4 separate regions of the Homo sapiens genome follow, and all the other regions are linked to region 2. Evidence: promoter capture Hi-C in 16 types of primary human blood cells and fetal thymus (Javierre and others, 2016). All regions are on one chromosome and are shown on one strand. The core of a region is centred on a gene start or on the middle of the fragment in contact, and the rest is flanking DNA. Distances in the headings are between cores, read along the strand shown.

What was found. The method cuts DNA at HindIII sites, captures the fragments that hold promoters and counts their contacts. A CHiCAGO score of 5 or more calls a contact.
Region 1: the fragment with the promoter of SDC4 here is called in contact with a fragment that was not itself captured in region 2 in 12 of 17 cell types (M0 macrophages, total CD8 T cells, naive CD8 T cells and 9 more); the score reaches 7.4 in M0 macrophages.
Region 3: the fragment with the promoter of PIGT here is called in contact with a fragment that was not itself captured in region 2 in 13 of 17 cell types (M2 macrophages, endothelial precursors, M1 macrophages and 10 more); the score reaches 14.1 in M2 macrophages.
Region 4: a contact is called between the fragment with the promoter of RBPJL here and a fragment that was not itself captured in region 2, in 17 of 17 cell types (naive CD4 T cells, total B cells, total CD8 T cells and 14 more). The highest score is 23.1, in naive CD4 T cells.

Annotation. Positions count from the first base shown.
Region 1 is chr20:45,347,127-45,349,826 of GRCh38, reverse strand. It overlaps SDC4 (syndecan 4), which reads left to right and starts at 1,403. Exons shown (of 5, transcript NM_002999.4): 1 at 1,403-1,502. The coding sequence starts at 1,443. The HindIII fragment of the contact is 6,082 bases long and covers 1-2,700 here.
Region 2 is chr20:45,771,524-45,774,254 of GRCh38, reverse strand. WFDC3 (WAP four-disulfide core domain 3) reads left to right here. Exons shown (of 7, transcript NM_080614.2): 7 at 1-42. Among named protein-coding and RNA genes, the nearest start is that of WFDC3, 19 kb to the left of the region's middle. RefSeq lists enhancers at 2,002-2,594, 2,595-2,731. The HindIII fragment of the contact is 3,130 bases long and covers 1-2,731 here.
Region 3 is chr20:45,414,766-45,417,465 of GRCh38, reverse strand. It overlaps PIGT (phosphatidylinositol glycan anchor biosynthesis class T), which reads right to left and starts at 1,325. Exons shown (of 12, transcript NM_015937.6): 1 at 1,123-1,325; 2 at 772-949. The coding sequence starts at 1,309. LOC107985405 (a long non-coding RNA gene) reads left to right here. Exons shown (of 2, transcript XR_001754640.2): 2 at 649-2,700. The HindIII fragment of the contact is 8,427 bases long and covers 1-2,700 here.
Region 4 is chr20:45,305,519-45,308,218 of GRCh38, reverse strand. It overlaps RBPJL (recombination signal binding protein for immunoglobulin kappa J region like), which reads right to left and starts at 1,379. Exons shown (of 12, transcript NM_014276.4): 1 at 1,275-1,379; 2 at 1-76. The coding sequence starts at 1,296. MATN4 (matrilin 4) reads left to right here. Exons shown (of 10, transcript NM_001393530.1): 1 at 1-44; 2 at 2,603-2,700. The coding sequence starts at 2,637. The HindIII fragment of the contact is 8,457 bases long and covers 738-2,700 here.

The DNA.
Region 1 (2,700 bases), core at 154-2,653, 420 kb after region 2:
CGTCAGAGTGGTCTCAGAGTGGCTGAGGCCCACCGCCTATTTTTGTTCAGCCCACTGCTAAGAATGGTTTTTGCATTTTTATTTTTTATTTTTTTGAGACGGAGTTTTGCTCTGTTGCCCAGGCTGGAGTGCAGTGGGGAGATCTCAGTTCACTGCAACCTCCGCCCCTCGGGTTCAAACGATTCTCCTGCCTCAGCCTCCAGAGCAGTTGGGATTACAGGCGCAGGCAACCATGCCTGGATAATTTTTGTATTTTGTAGAGACGGGGTTTCAGCATGTTGGCCAGGCTGGTCTCAAACTCCTGAGCTCAAGTGATCCGCCGCCTCAGCCTCCCAAAGTGCTGGGATTACAGGCATGACTCACTGCATCCGGCCTGCATTTTTATTATAAAATGTCATTTATTTATTTATTTATTTATTTATTTATTTATTTATTTATTTTTGAGACAGGGTCTCACTCGGTCACCCAGGCTGGAGTGCAGTGAGCGATCATGGCTCACTGCAACTTTCACCTCTCTGGCTCAAGCAGTCCTCCCACCTCAGCCTCCAGAGTAGCTGGGCCACAGGGGTGCACCACAATGCCTGGTTAATTTCTTTAAAAACTTTTTGTAGAGATGGGGGTCTCATTATGGTTGCCCAGGCTGGTCTCCAATTCCTGGGCTCAAGGGATCCTCCTATTCCTCGGCCTCCCAAAGTGCTGGGATTACAGGCGTGAGCCATAGAGCCCAGCCGATTTTTGCATGTTTAAATGGTTGGGAATAAAGTCAAAAGAATAATAATATTTCGTGACACATGAAAATTATATTAAATTCAAATGTCGGTGTCTATAAATAATGTTTTATTAGGACCTAGCTGCCCTCATTCCTTTAGTATTTATGGCTGCTTTTGAGCTACGACGCTCGAGTTTGAATAGTTGCCACAGGGATCGTATGGCCCGCAAAACCTAAAATATTTAGCCCTTTACAGAATAGTTTGCTGTCCCCTGTCTTAACACGGTTCACATCCCATTTGGGAAGTTCTGTGTCTTCAGAGGGGAGCACACCCGGTATGAAGGCTGGTCTAAACTCAACACCCTAGGGAAGTCCTTCCCGTCCCTGGGCCTTAGTTTCCCCAACTATAAAATGGGGTTAGCCGCAGTGATCTCTGGGGACCTGCCTGGCAGTGGGTCAAATAAATAAAGGGAGTTGGAGCTCCCGGAGGGTAGGACTAGGGGTTGAGTAGGAGCCGGCGGGCTCGGGCAGGGCGGGTCCCTTGGGGTTTCCAACTCCGCGGGCGGGCGCAGTGCCCCGCAGGCCTCGCTTCCACTGGGGAATTCCGGGCGGGGTGCGGGCGGCGGGGCGGGGGCGGGCCGGGGCGGGGCCGGTAGGCCGCCTATAAGATGGGTGGCGCGCCCGCCCGGGGCCACTCGCCGCAGCCTGCGCGCCTTCTCCAGTCCGCGGTGCCATGGCCCCCGCCCGTCTGTTCGCGCTGCTGCTGTTCTTCGTAGGCGGAGTCGCCGAGTCGGTGGGTGCTTGGAGGTTCCCGGGCTGGGGGCGAAGCGGGGGCGCAGGCCGGTGCCTCCTTTGTTCGTCGGAGCGTGGGATGGGGGGGGGCAGATCGGGGGTACGCTACCCCCAACCGGACACCGAGGCCCGGGAAACTTTGTTGGAAACTTTGCTCCGGGGTCACGGGCCAGCCTCCGGGATGGCTTCACGCGCCGTGCGCCCCTCGCCTGTTGCTCTTCCCGCCTCCCCGGGCCTCAGCCCCGCCGCGGGCTACGGGCTCGTTAGTGACTAAGCCGGTGTCAACTCTTCAACTCCCACACCCTCGTCCCTTCCCTGGTGACCCTGGGGCAGGCTTGGAGCGCTGAATCCCCTCCTCGCTCTCGGGGCGCCCAGAGCAGACAGCTTTAGGATCCGAGATGGCCCTGGGGGTCGGGGGGCTGCGTGTACTCGGAAGGGGGAGGGTTTTAGGGTTGTGCGAGGCCCTCTTTCACACACCAAGGAGAACTGAGCCCTAACCTCAGTTCTGGCCCCAGCTCTGTCATTGACTTGTGACTTAGGGCAAAGTCCTGCCCTTCTGAATCTCTTCCCAATACTGCACCAAGGGTCTGAGGGAATGGGGCAAGAGGGGACACTGCGTTAGGGTTTCTAGAAAGTTGGGGACTCTGCTCTTTTCGAGGACAGAGGAGAGGAATGGTTTAGACTCAACACTTAGCCAGGAGCTGAGCCTCTGCTTTCTGCAAGAAGTGTGTTCATTTTTTCTCAATTGCAGATAAGAAAATTGAAGCATCCACCTTGAGTGAGGTGAAGGGGGTAGGGGGGAGAGAAGGCCTCAATCAGCCCAGGGAAACCTTTCCTTCTCACTGTCCACTGGCCTCCGTCATAGCTGTCCCTGGGCCAGCAGAAGCTCTATCCATGCCCGCAGCCGGCTTAGGAGGAGGGGGGCAATCTCATCTGGGAAGTTGGGGGGCATGGGAATTACTGGTGAAGGCAATCTGTCCCCCACAGCCTGAGCTTTGTGCCCCCTTTGTGCCCTTTAGCCCCAGTTTTCAGAGCGAGTGAGTCCTTGCAGTTTAACCATTAATGTTAATTTCTTTGAAAGCCTTGGGGCTCCTGTTCCTCTGAATTTACTTAGCGGAAGGTTGATTCTGCCTGCAGGCTCTTCTTGAGGAATGAATGAGACCCTAGGCAATACTTCCAGCACAATTCCAGGCATGCCA
Region 2 (2,731 bases), core at 186-2,685:
GGGTGTGTGGTGCTTCTCTTTCCCGATAAAGGCTGGTGCTGACCTCTTGTTTGTGCTATTTGAGGGCTCAGATGATATGGGAGAGCTAGAGGGTATGTGTGTGCCTGTGGGATTGTACGATTTACATATTTAGGACAGATGGGTAATCCATTCTTTGTGAGGACACTGAAAATGGGTTTTGGTTGGGTGTGGCTAGGGAAGAGATGGGTGGAAACTAAACTGAGAGTGACTTGCCATAGATGTCTTTCTCAAGCCCTGGTGGGGGTGGAGGTCAGTCTCTTTTAGACCTGCTGACCTTCTTTCTTTTATTGGAGAATGTGGGTTGAGGGTGGAAACTAAACTGAGAGTGACTTGCCATAGATGTCTTTCTCAAGCCCTGGTGGGGGTGGAGGTCAGTCTCTTTTAGACCTGCTGACCTTCTTTCTTTTATTGGAGAATGTGGGTTGAGGGTGGAACAAGGGTGAGTGGCTAGTTTTTTTTTTTTTTTGAGATGTAGTCTCACTCTGTTGCCCAGGCTGGAGTGCAGTGGCGCAATCTTGGCTCACTGCAACCTCTGCCTCTCAGGTTCAAGTGATTCTCCTGCCTCAGTCTCCCGAGTAGCTGGGACTACAGGCGCGCTACCATGCCTGACTAATTTTTGTATTTTTAGTAGAGACGGGGTTTCACCATGATGGCCAGGCTTATCTTGAACTCCTGACCTCAGGTGATCTGCCTGCCTTGGCCTCCCAAAGTGCTGGGATTACAGGCGTCAGCCACTGTGCCCAGCCGAGTGGCTAGTTTCTTATAGATGTTGGAATGTTCCCACCTTGGACCTCCTTCCTTGAGGGCCAGCCCTTGGCTCCAAGACAGGCAGTTTGTCCCCTCCAGGTAGCTTTATTTTAGGGAGGGGATATCCCTAGGTTCTTGGGACCAAGATAATTTTTTAAAGTTATGTTTTTTATTTATATGAAATGGATTATATTGTGTATCTTGGAGATCTTTCATGTCATCACGTATATTCTTTTAATAGAACTCTATGAAATGGGTAATTTATTTAACTAGTTATCTTTTTTTTTTTTTGAGACGAAATCTTGCTCTGTCGCCTAGGCTGGAGTGCAGTGGCACGATCTCCGCTCACTGCAACCTCCGCCTCCTGGGCTCAAGCAATTCTCTTACCTCAGCCTTCTGAGTAGCTGTGCCTTTGACTGTTTTAGTAGAAACCCTGTCTCTACTAAAAATACAAAAATTAGCCGGGTGTGGTGGTGTGATGATATAATGATTTTTAAAAAAACTATGTGCATGTATTCGAGTTTTTAAATAAACAACAAAATGATAAAACAGTGGAAGAGGGATCTGCCAAAATGTTCAGCAGCCCATCACACAGACACTGGCCCTTCCCAGTTCCCTGCAACATGATCCTGGAGTCATGGATGTTTCTGGGTTGGCCACTGCGAGGTTCATGCCAGCCACTCTTTTTCAGATCAGGCAACATTGACATGTCTACTGTACTGAAAAGAGATAAATGTTCTGAACCAGGTAGAAACCAGAATTTCACATGCCAGGATGAAAACAAGGGGGAGAAGGCACAGACACTCAGCAGTGGTCGGGTGCAGTGGCTCACGCCTGTAATCCCAACATTTTCGGAGGCCAAGGCAGGCAGATCACTTGAGGTCAGGAGTTCAAGACCAGCCTGACCAACATGGTGAAACCCCGTCTCTACTAAAAATACAAAAATTAGCCAGGCTTGGTGGTGCACGCCTGTAATCCCAGCTACTCAGGAGGCTGAGGCAGGAGAATTGCTTGAACCTGGGAGGTGGAAGTTCCAAGTGAGCCGAGATCCTGCCATTGCACTCCAGCCCGGGCGACAAGAGCGAAACTCCATCTCAAAAAAAAAAAAAAAAAAAAAAATCATCAGTATGGTAGAACTTTCAATGAAAAACAACAGTCTGGGAATCCTCTCATATTGCAGAATGATGTTCTGTCAGGGTGGAGAGTGGGACTGGAGAGACAGGTGTGAGCCCCAGGCACAGCTCAGGCTGAGCAATGGGAGAGCTGCTCCTTGCAGACCTTTCCTCCTCGTCTGGAGGCTCACCCTTTCCAGAGGGAGCTGCTGACCTGCTTACAGGTAGCAACGTCGAGAGAGATAGAGAGATAGATAGATGTATAGAGAGATAGAGATGGAGATGAGAGAGAGATAGAGATGAGAGAGAGTGCTGAAGGGTTAAATTTGAAAGCTGGCGGTTAAAGGCTGAGCTGGGGCCAAATTCCCACCCCCAGGTCTTTCTGGGCAGCTTTCTCTACTGTTGGACCCTGAACTAAAGAAGCCATTAGAACCTTTCCTTCCTCAGGGTTTAAGTCCATTTCAGCCTTGGTCCTGGGGTGGAAATGACCCAGGAGCAGGTCTCAGTGGACCGTGATCCTACTCTCTCACCTTGCACCCCGAAATTAGCCTCTGACCAGGTTGAAAAGCCACCCTTCTCCCCCGCCCTGCTCCTCAGCTTCCTCATCGTGGGCAGGAATGTCTGGGGCTCCAGTGTAGGCTGAGAAAGACTTGTTCTTTGACCAGAACCACGCAGCTCCTCCCTTCTCCACCCTGCTTCTTGACCATCTGGTTGTAGAAATCTCAGACTCCATATGTGCCCTTGGCCCCAGCAATACCATGGGCCCCTGCAGCCTCCACTGCTCCCGTGGGGGCATGATGTTATTGGTAAGGCGTGTAAGTGGGGTGAGGAAGGCAGGAGGCCCAGAGCGT
Region 3 (2,700 bases), core at 76-2,575, 360 kb after region 2:
TATTCCCACATGGCAACAATCCATAGAAGCTGAGTGGCAGAGCTGTCCTCGTTAGAATGTCACACAAACTCTCTAGCCTGCCACAATTCCTGCTGCTCCTTTTTATTGCCCTAAAACTTGTTATATCATACTTGCACTATTGATTTCTTATAGTGGGATTAAGAGGAAAATGAGATATATTTCTCATTCCTGTGTTTGTCAATTTTAAAAATACCTTTATTCATTCCTTACCTGTGTGGCCCATGTAGACCTGTTTGCAACCACTGCACAGAAAGGTTCTATTCTAAACAGGATAGCCACAGCAGCCACTGGGAAATAGCGGTTTGTAGTAGGCACAGTAACTAGACCTGCCCCCTCCCAAACAAAAGCAGTTCCTCTAACACTGTGATGTAGCATCCTGTTGGCCAGTTGTAACCCACAGATATGTTATGGTTGGCTTTCGTGGTATTTATTATCATTTAAAAAATATTAATGAATGCCTTTTAAAAGGTTATCCAGTTGCCAGTTTTCTACTGCCTTACCTCCAAATAAGCATTAATTGTTTGCTATTTGCCTCTCCAGGGATATGCATGTGCTACCTCAGGTCTGAAAGTTTTAGGATTGGGAAGTTTATTCATCTGTGGTAACATTTCTTACTTCCAATGCCAGCTCTACCCCCATGGAATCGCTGCCTACTGGAAGTGCTGTCCCCAAGAGCAGTGGCAGGATGACAACACTCTCCCAGCCACATTCCCTCCATGGCCTGCAACAGGGCCCAAGGTGTGCACTCACTCAGTGACAGTGTCTTGGAACCAGACCCACAGCTCTGCACCTGATGGGGCCTGCAGGAAGGGTGGCCCCCAGTATCGGGTCCTCCAAAAGCCTTGTGTGAATGACAGGTGCAGCTCCCGTAGAGAATACTTGGAGATCAGCTGCCCCAGGGCTTTGGGAAAGAGCCTGTAATGGGACACTGGGGAAACGGGAGCAGGTGAGTGACGATCCCCACCTCGTCGGGGTCCACACCCAGGATCCCGAACTCTACCCAGGAATTAGGCCCCGCCCCCAAAGTTTGCCTTCATCCCACGGCCGGCCAGCCAGCAGGCACTACGGAAATCTTTCCCTGGTCAGATCTCGCGCCCTCACCTCCTTCCCGCTGAAGCTCCGAATCCCAGCGCGTGCGGAACTGGAATGTGGCGGCTACGTCCCCGGAAGGCAGCGGGGTGATGACAAGTTCCTCCCGCAGGCTGTCGCGTGGGGGTTCTGCAAGGCACCAGCCGCCGGGCCCCAGGAGCAACAGGACGAGCAGAGCAAGCGGCATAGCCGCCGCCATGCCTGCGGCTACTTCCGCCTACCCAGCGGCGCTCGGCCCCATGAAAAGCCGGTATCCAATAAGAAAGGCGTGTGAGAAGTGACTTCCGCTGTCGTCCCGGAAACCGGGATGCGGTTATCAGAGCGACCGCCTGCGCAGGTCGCGAAGATTCCCTCAGAGCTGGTGGGTCTAAGGGGGTACTGGGAGGACACGAGAGGGAGTAGGCAGGGCGAGTAACCAGCTTGAGGCCGCACCTAGTTCATGGCGTATTCCACCCACCAGGAAATGCTTAATAATATGAAGCTCCTTCACTGCCATTTTACCCATTTGATAGTTGAGGAAACATTGACTGAAAAAGATCAATTACTTTTGGGAAAACCATTGTGGTTTTAATTTGCATTTCCCAAAGTAAGAGGAACCTCCTGCCCCTCTTAGCTTCTAGTGTCTCCATTTGCTGCAAAACCCCCAAATAAGTGGTTCTTTTATTACGAAAATGTTCAAACAAAATTGAAAGAATGAGCACCTGTTACAATAAACCTATTTTCCACCACCTAGATTCTACTATTTACATTATACTATACTTGTACTTTACCACATATTTGTCTATACATCCATCATTCCATCTTGTGTTTTGGTGCACTTCAAAGTAAATTGCAGACATTAGTACACTTTCCTTTAAGTAGTTAAGCATGCATATAATTAACTAGAGTTCAGTATTCGATTGCATTTTGATGTAAAATTCACATACAGTGAAATGCACAAATCCAAAGTACACATTCACTGAGTTTTGACAAATGCACACACCTATGTAACCCGAACTCCTATCATGATACAGAACATTCCTAAAACCCCAGAAAATTAGCAATACCCTTTCCTAGTCAATCCCTGCTCCTCTATCACCTTCCAGAGGCAGTTAGTACCCTGATTTTTTCCCACAATAGATTAATCTGTTCCAGAACTAAATATAAATGAAATCATATAGTATGTATACTGTGTAAGGCTTTTTTTTTTCTCATGGGAAGAATGTTTTTGAGAATCATCCATGTTCTTGCATGTATCCACAATTCTTTTTATTACTGCGTAGTATTATTAATTTATCCATTCAACTCTTGATGGGCACTTTTAAAGTTTTTGGTTATTATTAACAAGGCTGCTGTCTGTGCAAGCTCCTTTGTAGACGTATATTTCTCATATCCTTTGGCCAGGTATTTAAGAGTGGAATTGCTGGGTCAGAGAGCAGGTGTATGTTTAATTTTATAAGAAACTGTCAGACCTTTCTCCAAAATGTATCATTTTATGTTTCCATAAACTATGAGTCTCCATTGTACCACATCCTGGTCAGCATTTGAAGTTTCTAATTTTTTGTACTTTTTAGTTTTGACCACTTGGGTATGTATGTAGTGTTTGCTCAT
Region 4 (2,700 bases), core at 130-2,629, 470 kb after region 2:
GCTTCGCTCTGCAGCTGCATCTCTGATCTGTCCTGCAGGCTCAGGTGAGTCAAAGGATTGGGAGGCACTGAGGGGTCTGCAGGGGAGTAGGCATCAAGCCAGGTCAGGCGAGTGTATTTTAGCAGAGACGCTGCCTAGGGTGCCCTATCTGATTTGCAGTGCCCTTCCCCACTTCTGCAGGGTCCTTTCCAAATCGAGCCCCCACCCTCAAAGCCATCAAAATAGGATCATCCCTTTTCTACTCTCATCCCTCCAGGAACCCCCTGAAATGTCCCTAAGGGACTTTTGAGAATTTATTTACAGGCCTCTCCTCCCTTGCTGCTCCACTCCCTCAACCTCACCTCAGGGCATCTCTGAATCTTTCTTTTTTTAATGCAAGGATTAACTCCTCAGAGGAATCCCAGGTTCTAGTATCAGTCCTGCCACGACATCGCCATGTACCCTTCAGCAAGACACTACCCTCTCTGGACCTAGTTCCTTTCTTTGTAGAATGAGGGGTTTGGAAAGGTGATGAACTTTGAGGCATTTGCTATTTTGACTTTCTAGGATTCCTGGGGTGGAGGCAGGGTGCCAGGTGAGAAGTTGGCTCAGACCAAGAATGGGATGAGGGGAACCTTAACCAAGATTTAGGGGCCCAGAGGCATCTCCGGGTAGGAAAGTATGGGAGGTGGCAGAGGCCCCTTGTGCCTTAGCCCTCATGCTGTCCAGGGATGTTGGCTTTGCCTGTGGCCCAAGCTTGACAAGGGTTCCCCGCCCTCCCACTTCCACCAGCGCTGCCACATCTTGCTTGGTCACCCTCCCACGACGGGCCCTGCCAGAGGATTTATGTTCTTCTACCAGGCCTGGGAGGGGAAAAGGGAGAAGAATCCGGGATGAGAAGGTCGCCTGGAGTGAGAAGCAGGCACTGGCCTCGCTCAGAATAGGCGCATTCACGGAATTGGGGGGCGGGGGCGGAGCTGCTGTTGGGTTAGGGGCAGCTGGCCCTCTCTGCCAAGAAACAGCAACAGAAAAATGGCTAACACAGCTTCAGCATGGGGCGCGGCGGTGGGGTAGGAGCTGGAAGGAAATGAGGTTTAGTGAATTCTAGGCGCCAGGGGGCCTCAAGAGAGAGAAGGGGAACCAGGAGCCCTAGGTTCTAATCCTGCTTTTGCAGTTCGGCGGGCTGCCTCCTTGGGGCTTAGTTTTCCTATTTGTATAGTGGGGAGGGGGTGGGGGGGTGGTCCTTCGTAGTTCTCACGGGGCGTCTCCGGGGCCTCGGGAGGGTAAGCGCTCACCTGCTGCCCCTGCGGGGTCCATGGTGGCTCCACGGGGCCCCAGCCGCTCACCCGCCGCCCTCTGGACGAGTCCAGTGCTGCTGTCGCTGGAACCCTGCACACCCCTGCTCCTCGGCTCTTGCGCGGGTTATATCCTGTCCAGGCCTTATCTCCAAGGCCCCGGGCCCCGGCCCCCTGTTTGCTCGGGGTGGGCGCACCTGCTGGGCAGATGTGGGCTTCCCACGCCCCCTGCCATCTCGGGCGCCCCCTGGCGGTCGCTCCTGAGAGCAGGCGGGAAACAGGCGCCAAGCCGCGCGTTCTCGTGCGCAGTGGGTTTTGGTCCACTCGCTGCCACGCCACCACGCTCAGCCCCGCAACAGGGCGCAGCCCCTCCCTGCCGCCTGCGGTTGGGCAGTGCATGTCTGTGTTTGTGTGTGTGGAGGGGTCTGGGGGGGTTGGCGAGTTGCAAAGACAGCCACACAGAAGCCTGTGTGCGTAGGGGAGTGGGCCGAGGTGGGGAAGGGCTTCTGTCTGCAGAGGTTCGCCTGGCAGGAGGAGAGGCACCAAACGCCCAGGCTGGCTCACAGAAACTAGCAGGCGTGGGATTGTATCCTGCCGCAGCCACTTTTTGGCCGAATGACTTTGGGTACCAGCGCTTAACTTTTCTGAGCCTCAATTTCATTGTCTGTATGATGGGGGACAATCACAGCCTTAGTCTTACAATTGCAGAGAGGATTAAATGCCACAATGCGTGAAGAGCATTTAACACTGTGCCTGACATTTAAGGAAGACCTGTTTTTTTCTGTTTAAATTTTGCATATTTGTATCTATGTATCTATTCTTATTTACCATTCTCTTGTGGGCCGAGCGCGGTGGCTCACGCCTGTAATCCCAGCATTCTGGGAGGCCGAGGTGGGAGGATCACCTGAGGTCAGGAGTTTGAGACCAGCCTGACCAACATGGCAAAACCCGCTCTCTACTAAAAATACAAAAAATTAGCCAGGTGTGGTGGCAGGAGCCTGTAATCCCAGCTACTCGGGAGGCTGAGGCCGGAGAATCGCTTGAACCTGGGAGGCAGAGGTTGCAGTGAGCCGAGATCATGCCACTGCACTCCAGCCGGGACGACAGAGCAAGACTCTATCTAAAAAAAAAAAAAAAAAGAATCTCTTGTGTTTCCCAGCAATCCCACTGTGATGAGAATTTTTTAATTCTGAAACATTTCAAACATACACAAAAATAGAGAGATTAGTAAAATAAACCTGTAACTGTCTTCCCCCTCCAAGTGCCTATCACCCAGAATAAGAGCTCTGTAAATACTGTTGCTTTTCTATTTTCCTTCCTCCCTCCAGGCTCTGACACCTCCATTCTCTGTCCCCAAGCGCCATGAGAGGCCTTCTTTGCTGGCCCGTGTTGCTGCTCCTTCTTCAGCCCTGGGAAACCCAGCTCC